Linked DNA regions of Homo sapiens: all the other regions are linked to region 3. The links are contacts of gene promoters, found by promoter capture Hi-C in human tissues and cell types (Jung and others, 2019). All regions are on one chromosome and are shown on one strand. Each heading gives the region's core, a stretch centred on a gene start or on the middle of the fragment in contact. The rest is flanking DNA. Distances are from core to core; before and after follow the strand shown. Region 1 has its middle 10 kb from the start of GLDC. Region 2 overlaps UHRF2 (ubiquitin like with PHD and ring finger domains 2). Region 3 holds the start of MLANA (melan-A).

Region 1 (2,700 bases), core at 181-2,680, 770 kb after region 3:
GCCTTCTTGTCTTACATAATGAAGGAAAAATAAAAGAAAACAGAATAAACGGGTCAGGGCTGAGAGGAAATCAACCAGCGACTCTGCAGCCAGAGAACACAGGACAGAAGAGAAAGGAACTATATCACTGGAAAAACAATTGTGAAGTTCATAGCCCAAGACAGAGGGCTGTGAAAACACCAGTATTTAATTGGAACATTATAGAACACACCCTGTTTCCAAAACTTAACTACAGCACCAGCAGGGCTTTCATAGTAACAACTGAAGGTGCTGCAATACACAGACTGCCCCTGAGGAAGAGTACCGTAGACCCCCTTATTTGTGGTTTCGCTTTTCATGGTTTCAGTTACCTGCAGTTAACCACCTTCTGAAACCATAAATGGAAAATTCCAGAAATAAACAGTTCATAAGTTGTTGGGTTTTTTTTTGTTTTTTTGTTTTTTGACACAGTTTCACTCTTGTTGCCCAGGCTGTAGTACAGTGGCGCGATCTCAGCTCACCACAACCTCCGCCTCCCGGAGTCAAGCGATTCTCCTGCCTCAGCCTTCTGAGTAGCTGGGATTACAGGCATGCACCACCATGCCCGGCTAATTTTGTATTTTTAGTAGAAACAGGGCTTCTCCATGTTGGTCAGGCTGGTCTCGAACTCCTGACCTCAGGTGATCCACCCGACTCAGCCTCCCAAAGTGCTGGGATTACAGGCATGAGCCACCGTGCCCAGCCAACAGTTCATAAGTTTTAAGCTACATGCTGTTCCAAGGAGCATGACAAAATCTCACACTGTCCTGCCCCATCGCGCCTGGGATGTGATTCATCCCTTCGTCCAGTGTATCCATGCTGTTTATGCTGTGCACCCTCAGTCACTTCGTAGCTTTCTCAGTTGTCCCATTCTCAGATTGACCATCAGGATATTGCAGTGTTGTGTTTTACTTAATAATGGCCCAAAATTTCAGAATAGTGATGCTGGCAATTTGGATATGCCACAGAGAAGCTGTAAAGCACTTCCTTTAAGTGAAAAGGTGAAAGTTCTTGACTTAATAATATGTACACCATGGAATATTATGCAGCCATAAAAAAGAATGAGTTCATGTCCTTGCAGAGACATGGATGAAAAAGGCGAAAACTAGTCAGGTGTGGTGGCATGTGCCTGTGGTCCCTGAAACTGGAGAGGCTGAGGTGGGAGGATTGCTTGAGCCACAATCACACTACTGCACTTTAGCCTAGTGATGGAGCAAGACGGAGGCTGGTCTTGAACTCCTGGGCTCAAGCAGTCTGCCCACCTGGGCCTCCTAAAGTGGCTGGGATTACAGGCATGTGCCACCACGCCCAGCTAATTTTGTATTTTTAGTAGAGACGGGGTTTCTCCATGTTAGTCAGGCTGGTCTCGAACTCCCAACCTCAGGTGATCCGCCAGCCTCGGCCTCCTTTAAGTGCTGGGATTACAGGTGTGAGCCACTGCATCCGGCCTTATTTTTGTATTTTTAGTAGAGACAGGGTTTCAGCATGTTGGCCAGGCTGGTCTCAAACTCCTGACCTCAAGTGATCTGCCTGCTTCAGCCTCCCAGAGTGTTGGGATTACAGGCGTGAGCCACCGCACCCAGCCAGAAGTGAAGTTTCTATATGAATGTCAATGTTATTGCACTAGGTTTAATGCCATGCTGTGACCTCTCAGATTCTTTTACTAAAGATGAGATATGACATATGCAGATTCTGGATTCCTAATAAAACAGCCAAGCAGGACTAGCTCCCAGGTGATACTTTCTTTCCCAAGAGAAGCAGAATTATAAAGGATTTAGATGCAAGGTTGGTACCTTAATATTCTTTCCTGGCTGGCTAAGTGTGAAGTGGGGAAGGAGGGAATGGAGGGATACAGGGGCCCTGTCCAAAAATATCACTTCCCACTATAAGCTAATTAAAGATACATTTGTGTTAACTAGTTTCTCCTTTGAAAGCAATTACTGCCATGCCAAGCCTCATTAACAACTCAGTATGACTTCCTTTAAAGAGAAAATCCACTCAGCTCTTAACTGGCCCTGTGAGTGTCCAGCTAGAGTCCTTGGATTTATCGAAGAGCAAATTTATGAAGTAGATACTTCTTCGTTTATTACAATTAAAGAGGAAAGGCAGATTCGAAAAGATAACTGTGGTCACAGGTGGTAGAGAAAATGCACTAGAGGAGGACCTGCCTTCAAGTATCTCATTGACCAGCACAGGATTGTGAAAGGACAGAAAGCCAAAGACTGATTCAAAGCCCAGAGGCCACTAATTTACTGTTAAGGACACACGGGCAATGTGCATAGAGCATTTGCTTCCACACCTGGCTATTACTTTGTGTGTTTGTGTGTGTGTGTATCAGGATTTTAATGTACAGCTGGCCGGTGACTCAACACAACCCCATGGCTCTGAACTGTCTCATTCAAATTGTAAGTTTCACGCATAAATAATAGGTACTGCTCTTTCTATAGATCCAATAGAAAATACTCTTTTTTTGGTTCTAGCTCTTTTCCTTGAAACTTTATTTATATTTAAATTTTTTACCCCCAGGCCTGGTGGCTCATGTCTGTGATCCCAGCACTTTGGGAGGCCAAGGCGGGCAGATTACCTGAGGCTTGGAGTTCGAGACCAGCCTGACCAACATGGTGAAACCCCCGTCTCTACTAAAAATACAAAAACTAGCCGGGCATGGTGGTGGGCATCTGT
Region 2 (2,700 bases), core at 3-2,502, 550 kb after region 3:
GTGTATCTTAGAGCACAAAACACAGTACCTTAGCATATATTTGGCAACTTTTTTTGTCAGTTAGAATGAATGTTAAGTAAAGGGGAATCTAAATCCAACATGTGTGAAAAGACTAAAATTACCTGCCCTAAATAATTTTACGTGATGGAATTAAATGTTTCAATGCTGGCAACTTAAAGATACGATAGCTGAACTTTCTTTGAAAAATGAAAGATAACAGAAGCTTAGTAACAGGTAAATGTCACCTCTTTAAAAAGAGGAAAGGACTATATAAAATATGAGATGTATAACATAAATAAGCTCCTGGATAAAAGAATCATTATGAGCCCGATATGGTTGTGATACAAAGCATGTTAAAGTTTCATTCTTTGTGATCATTAGAAAAATGAATTATAAAATATAATGAAGTACATGTTGATTTCAGTAAGTCATCAAACAAGTTCTTCTTTGAATGGAGGATGCATTGAAGAAAGCTGGTATAGCCTAACAGTAGTAATAAGCAGATTTTTTATTTTATTATTATTATTTTTTAGACAGAGTCTCGTTCTGTTGCTCAGTCTGGAGTGCAGTGGCACGATCTCGGCTCGCTGCAACCTCTGCCTTGCAGGTTCAAGCGATTCTCCTGCCTCAGCCTCATGAGTACCTGGGATGACAGGTGCCTGCCACCACGCCTGGCTAACTTTTGTATCTTTAGTAGATACGGGGTTTCACCGTGTTGGTCAGGCTGGTCTTGAACTCTGGACCTCAGGTGATCCACCTACCTCAACCTCCCAAAGTGCTGGGATTACAGGTATGAGTCACTGCACCTGGCCAGATTTTTTTATTGAGTAGTAAGCTCCAAGTGAGTCGATAGAATGTGGTTGTCATATAGTTATGCTGTAAATCTGTTTTGCTTTATTTTATTTATTTATTTTTGAGACAGAGTCTTGCACTGTGGCCCAGGCTGGAGTGCAGTGGTGCGATCTCAGGTCACTGCAACCTCCACTTCCTGGTTTCAAGTAATTCTCGTGCCTCAGCCTCCCAAGAAGCTAGGATTATAGGCATGCACCACCACACCTGGCTAATGTTTGTATTTTTAGTTGAGACTGGGTTTCACCACGTTGGCCAAGGTGGTCTTGAATTCCTGATCTCAAACACCCACCTTAGCCTCCCAGAGTGCGAGATTACAGGTGTGAGCCACCGCACCCGGCTAGTTTCATTAGAAGTAAGATACCTAGTACAAACCAGATGATGCTGCTGTTGTACTGGACTGGCTATTCCCTACTAGGAATATTGTCCTCCAGCTCTCATGCCTTAAAAACAATACCATCAGGACCTGGTGCATGTTCAGAGTAGGACTCAAAATGTAAAACTACAGTGAAGAGTAGCCAAAAAAACTAAATACTTAGCTTGAAAGACCTGGATTATGATTGTTCCCATATTGTAAAAGCTCTTAGAAGAGATTTCTGTATAACACAGAAGGGAAGTTTCAGGATAACCTAAACTTCCTACCAGTCAAATATCTCTGAAGATGGAGAATGGTCTGCCTTGAGAAGTAGCCAGTAAACTAGCATTGGCCATTTTCAACCATAGATGGGAAGACTTATTGGAGATGATGCACTGCAAAGAGAATCTATGAAGTTAGTAATTGTATTAGATGACCTGTAATGACAGCATGTCATTTTTACCTCTAAGCCAGTGTCTCTCAAAGTCACATTTTTGTACTTTAACTAAATAGGCTTTAAGTGCTTATAGGTTACCATCCCATTGCATTTATGGCTTTATGGTATTTCTCTCAAAGAACTACTTTTTCATTTTTCTCCTAGAGTGATAAGCATTATTTGGCAAACCTGTGCACAATTGTGTCTGCAAACCTCTTGAGTGTAGCAGTGTAGTTTGAACAAGCTGTCATTTAGCAAAAGCAGGGAGATGTATTGTACATGAGATGAAAGAAACCTGCCTCTGGAATTATTCTGGGGTATGCAATGTTTGTCAGTTAAAATGGAGCTGTTTAAAAGCTGTTTTTTATAGTAATCTACGTATCTAATAGATTACTAGACCAGATTATCAGTCTTTGAAATGAAGCTTCATTAAAACAGAATTCGTTGCTGAATTAGGCCAAGATAAATAGCTATTCTCTTGCATTTTCAACTTCTACTCCAGTCAGAGCAGAGTTAAAAACAATCTTTAGTCTATGAGGAATGATAGCCATTATAGATTTATGATGTTTCTTCTTAGGTAGAGGAGTTTCAAACACCAAACCAAAAAAATTTAAGATATAGTAGAAGATGTAATTCTAAAATATAACTGAAATAATTTGTTTCCTAATTTATCTCCACTATTCCTTCAAAAATTACAGATACAAACACTAAGTTTATGAAAAACAGGTTATGTTAAGAGATTTGAAATGTTTTAAAATTTGAGTTTTACTAGTTGCTTGTAAATGGTCCTTTTCTATAGATTTCTTGGTGAACATAGGCTGAATTGTTTTTTGTTTGTTTCTTTGAGACAGCCCTGCTCTATGGCTTGGGCTGGAGTGCCGTGGTGTGATCTTGACTCACTGCAACTTCTGTCTCCCGGGTTCAAACGATTCTCCTGTCTCAGCCTCCTGAGACACAGATGTGCACCACCACGCCCGGCTAATTTTTGTGTTTAGTAGAGATGGAGTTTCGCCATGTTGGCCAGGTTGGTCTTGAACTCCTGACCTCAAGCCTCAGTTTT
Region 3 (2,700 bases), core at 22-2,521:
CTACTAAAAATACAAAAATTTGCCAGGTGTGGTGGCGTGCACCTGTAGTCCCAGCTACTCAGGAGGCTGAGGCAGGAGAATTGCTTGAACCTGGGAGGCAGAGGTTGTAGTGAGCTGAGATCCTGCCACTGCACTCCAGCCTGGGCGACAGAGTGAGTCTCCATCTCAGAAAAAAAAAATGTGTTTGAGCCTAGTTATAATGATTTAAAATTCATGGTCCGACACCGCAATTACTTTTGCACCAACCTAATTGATGTCTAAGTAGGTCATATTCTACCTGCAAAAAGAAAATTTCATCTATCCCTTTCACATAGATGGAAACCCACTATCTCCAGTGGACAGTTAACACCAAAGGCATCACAGAGAACTCATGGAGCTCAGCTGAGGAGGTTTCAGGGATTTTTCTATTTCCTTTTCTTGATTATGAGAGTCTGGGACTAGATGCTCTCCAGACCTGTGCCTAAAGACTCTTCAACCCTTTGAGATGGAGATGAGGGAGGGAATAGGGAACCCAGTTTAGTTTGGATTTCAGATCCTTTTGTGGGTCATAAGCGTGATGATTGGGTTTCCATGTTCACGTGTGAGATATGCCTCCCTCAAACCTTGTTACAATGACATGGGCACCTTACCTATCTGACATGAGAAAAACAAATGTGGATTTCAGATAAACAAAAAATAACTCTTTTAGTGTATATGTCCCATAGAATATGTGGACATATTTATCCTAAAAATATTGTATGGGACATAGTTGTATTAAGAAACTGTTCATTGTTTATCTGAAGTTCAAATTTAACTGGGCATCCTCCTCAGCTGAGCTCCATGAGTTCTCTGTGATGCCTTTGGTGTTAACTGTCCACTGGAGATAGTGGGTTTCCATCTATGTGAAAGGGATAGATGAAATTTTCTTTTTGCAGGTAGAATATGACCTACTTAGACATCAATTAGGTTGGTGCAAAAGTAATTGTGGTGTCGGACCATGAATTTTAAATCATTATAACTAGGCTCATGTCATATTTTATGTGACATGGCAATCCTATGGAGGAGGGACCAACATTTAAAATAAATGGCTTCCCTAGGATAGAGCACTGGGACTGGGGAAAACAGAGGCCACAGTCAGCTGTGACTTTTTGAAGGAAGGAATAAAGTTGGTTTCTTTCATGCCAATTTAGCAATTACAGACGACCCCGTCAGAAATCTAAACCCGTGACTATCATGGGACTCAAAACCAGGAAAAAAAATAAGTCAAAACGATTAAGAGCCAGAGAAGCAGTCTTCATACACGCGGCCAGCCAGCAGACAGAGGACTCTCATTAAGGAAGGTAAGAGCGTTGCCTTCTCGCCATAATCATAGTCCTCTTCTCCCAGAATAGGATTTGGGAAATTCTGGCTAAGTCCTCTGCCTACCCTCATTGCCCCGCTGATGTGTGACATCAACAGAATTTCTCCGCAACGTTTGTCAGTCTCCAACCTCAGAGGGCTCACAAAGCCTCCTCCTGAATCCTCTCTCAGTCCTCCAACACTACCAAGAAGAAAAGCAATTATTCAGGATGGCATCTTGCTGGGGAGAAGCAGCCTCCCTGAGGTAGATGTGTTCTCCTGTCACTTAAAGAACCACTTCTCCTGGTCTGAGTAGTAAGAGGCGCATTTGCTGTTGCTGCACCATTTGCCAAGGCTCTGAGTTTGAGGTATGGGATGTATTAAAACAATTTAATGAAGAATTAAGATTCCATTCTGTCATTTTGAACACAGGGTTCAGTCCTATATTATTCACTTGAGAGGACTGGTGAGTTTGACTTTCATTTCTTTTTTACAACTGGGAAGGGCAAATTACACATAAAATGTCCCAGTGGAAAGGGGTCATGTGTCGAAATCCCCACTCTTCTGTCTCACCTCTCCCTGTTGTTTTAAACTGGGGCTCATTAATATAATTCTATGGGGATCACACCTTTGAAATTCATGAGGACAGTAAGAGAGCAGAAAAATACACAATAATAAGGAAAGGAGCTTCCATTATTGGTTTTTAATGAGCGTACTTGAATTACGGCCACTGCAGTTTATGGATATTTTTTGTTGTTCATTTGTATGTGTTATAGTTAGAAAAAAAAAGAATCCTAGCCAAGGGACTTGAACCAGAGAGAAGCAGAAATTGACTTAAGTAGGAAGGGAAACACATTGTTAGATAAAGTCAGGTCCTGGGCTTCCTCGGCTTGTTTTGGGTGGAGTGCCTGGGGACAGGCTGAAGCCCCTGTGTGGGGTGGTTTCCTTTGCTGAAAAGCTGGGCTGGAAGATGTTGTGCTCAGTGCTCAACCTCATGCACCCTCGCGAGGCACAGGCAACGGGTGCTCTGGGAAACACACGTTATGTATCATAGCCTCTGTTTGTCTGTGGGATTGATATCCAACAATAACTTTGGAGAAAAATAACTCCTCTAATTTTGTTAGCCACAGCCCTGGGCCAGGGAAGGTGGAGAATCAGTGAAAATGCATTTTGTTTGTTTCTCTAGAAGTTTATGGTGCAGAGTCAAATTGAAGGCAAATGAGGAATATTTTTTCACCAAATAATAACTCAACTTGCAAGTCTTTTTTGCTTTTGTTTGTAGTTTCTTCTTTGAACTTAATTTTCAGTTAGTAGGAGGGGTTAGAAACCTGAGCTATTGCTAAAGCCCTTGATATGAATGAAAGAAGCAGGTGCAAATCCCCT

What was found. Contacts are between HindIII fragments. The study calls those that stand out against the background at their distance.
Region 1: a fragment that was not itself captured here is called in contact with the fragment with the promoter of MLANA in region 3 in 1 of the 25 tissues and cell types used here (heart left ventricle).
Region 2: a contact is called between a fragment that was not itself captured here and the fragment with the promoter of MLANA in region 3, in 2 of the 25 tissues and cell types used here (dorsolateral prefrontal cortex and spleen).

What each region holds. Positions count from the first base shown.
Region 1 is chr9:6,654,865-6,657,564 of GRCh38, forward strand. No RefSeq gene overlaps it. Among named protein-coding and RNA genes, the nearest start is that of GLDC, 10 kb to the left of the region's middle. RefSeq lists enhancers at 1,712-2,218, 2,153-2,252. The HindIII fragment of the contact is 4,863 bases long and covers 1-2,700 here.
Region 2 is chr9:6,436,721-6,439,420 of GRCh38, forward strand. The region is part of intron 3 of UHRF2 (ubiquitin like with PHD and ring finger domains 2); the gene reads left to right. Among named protein-coding and RNA genes, the nearest start is that of UHRF2, 25 kb to the left of the region's middle. The HindIII fragment of the contact is 5,119 bases long and covers 1-2,700 here.
Region 3 is chr9:5,889,618-5,892,317 of GRCh38, forward strand. It overlaps MLANA (melan-A), which reads left to right and starts at 1,272. Exons shown (of 5, transcript NM_005511.2): 1 at 1,272-1,319. It overlaps LOC124902341 (small nucleolar RNA U13), which reads left to right and starts at 533; the gene lies at 533-639. It also overlaps a transcript of BRD10 not described here. The HindIII fragment of the contact is 14,558 bases long and covers 1-2,700 here.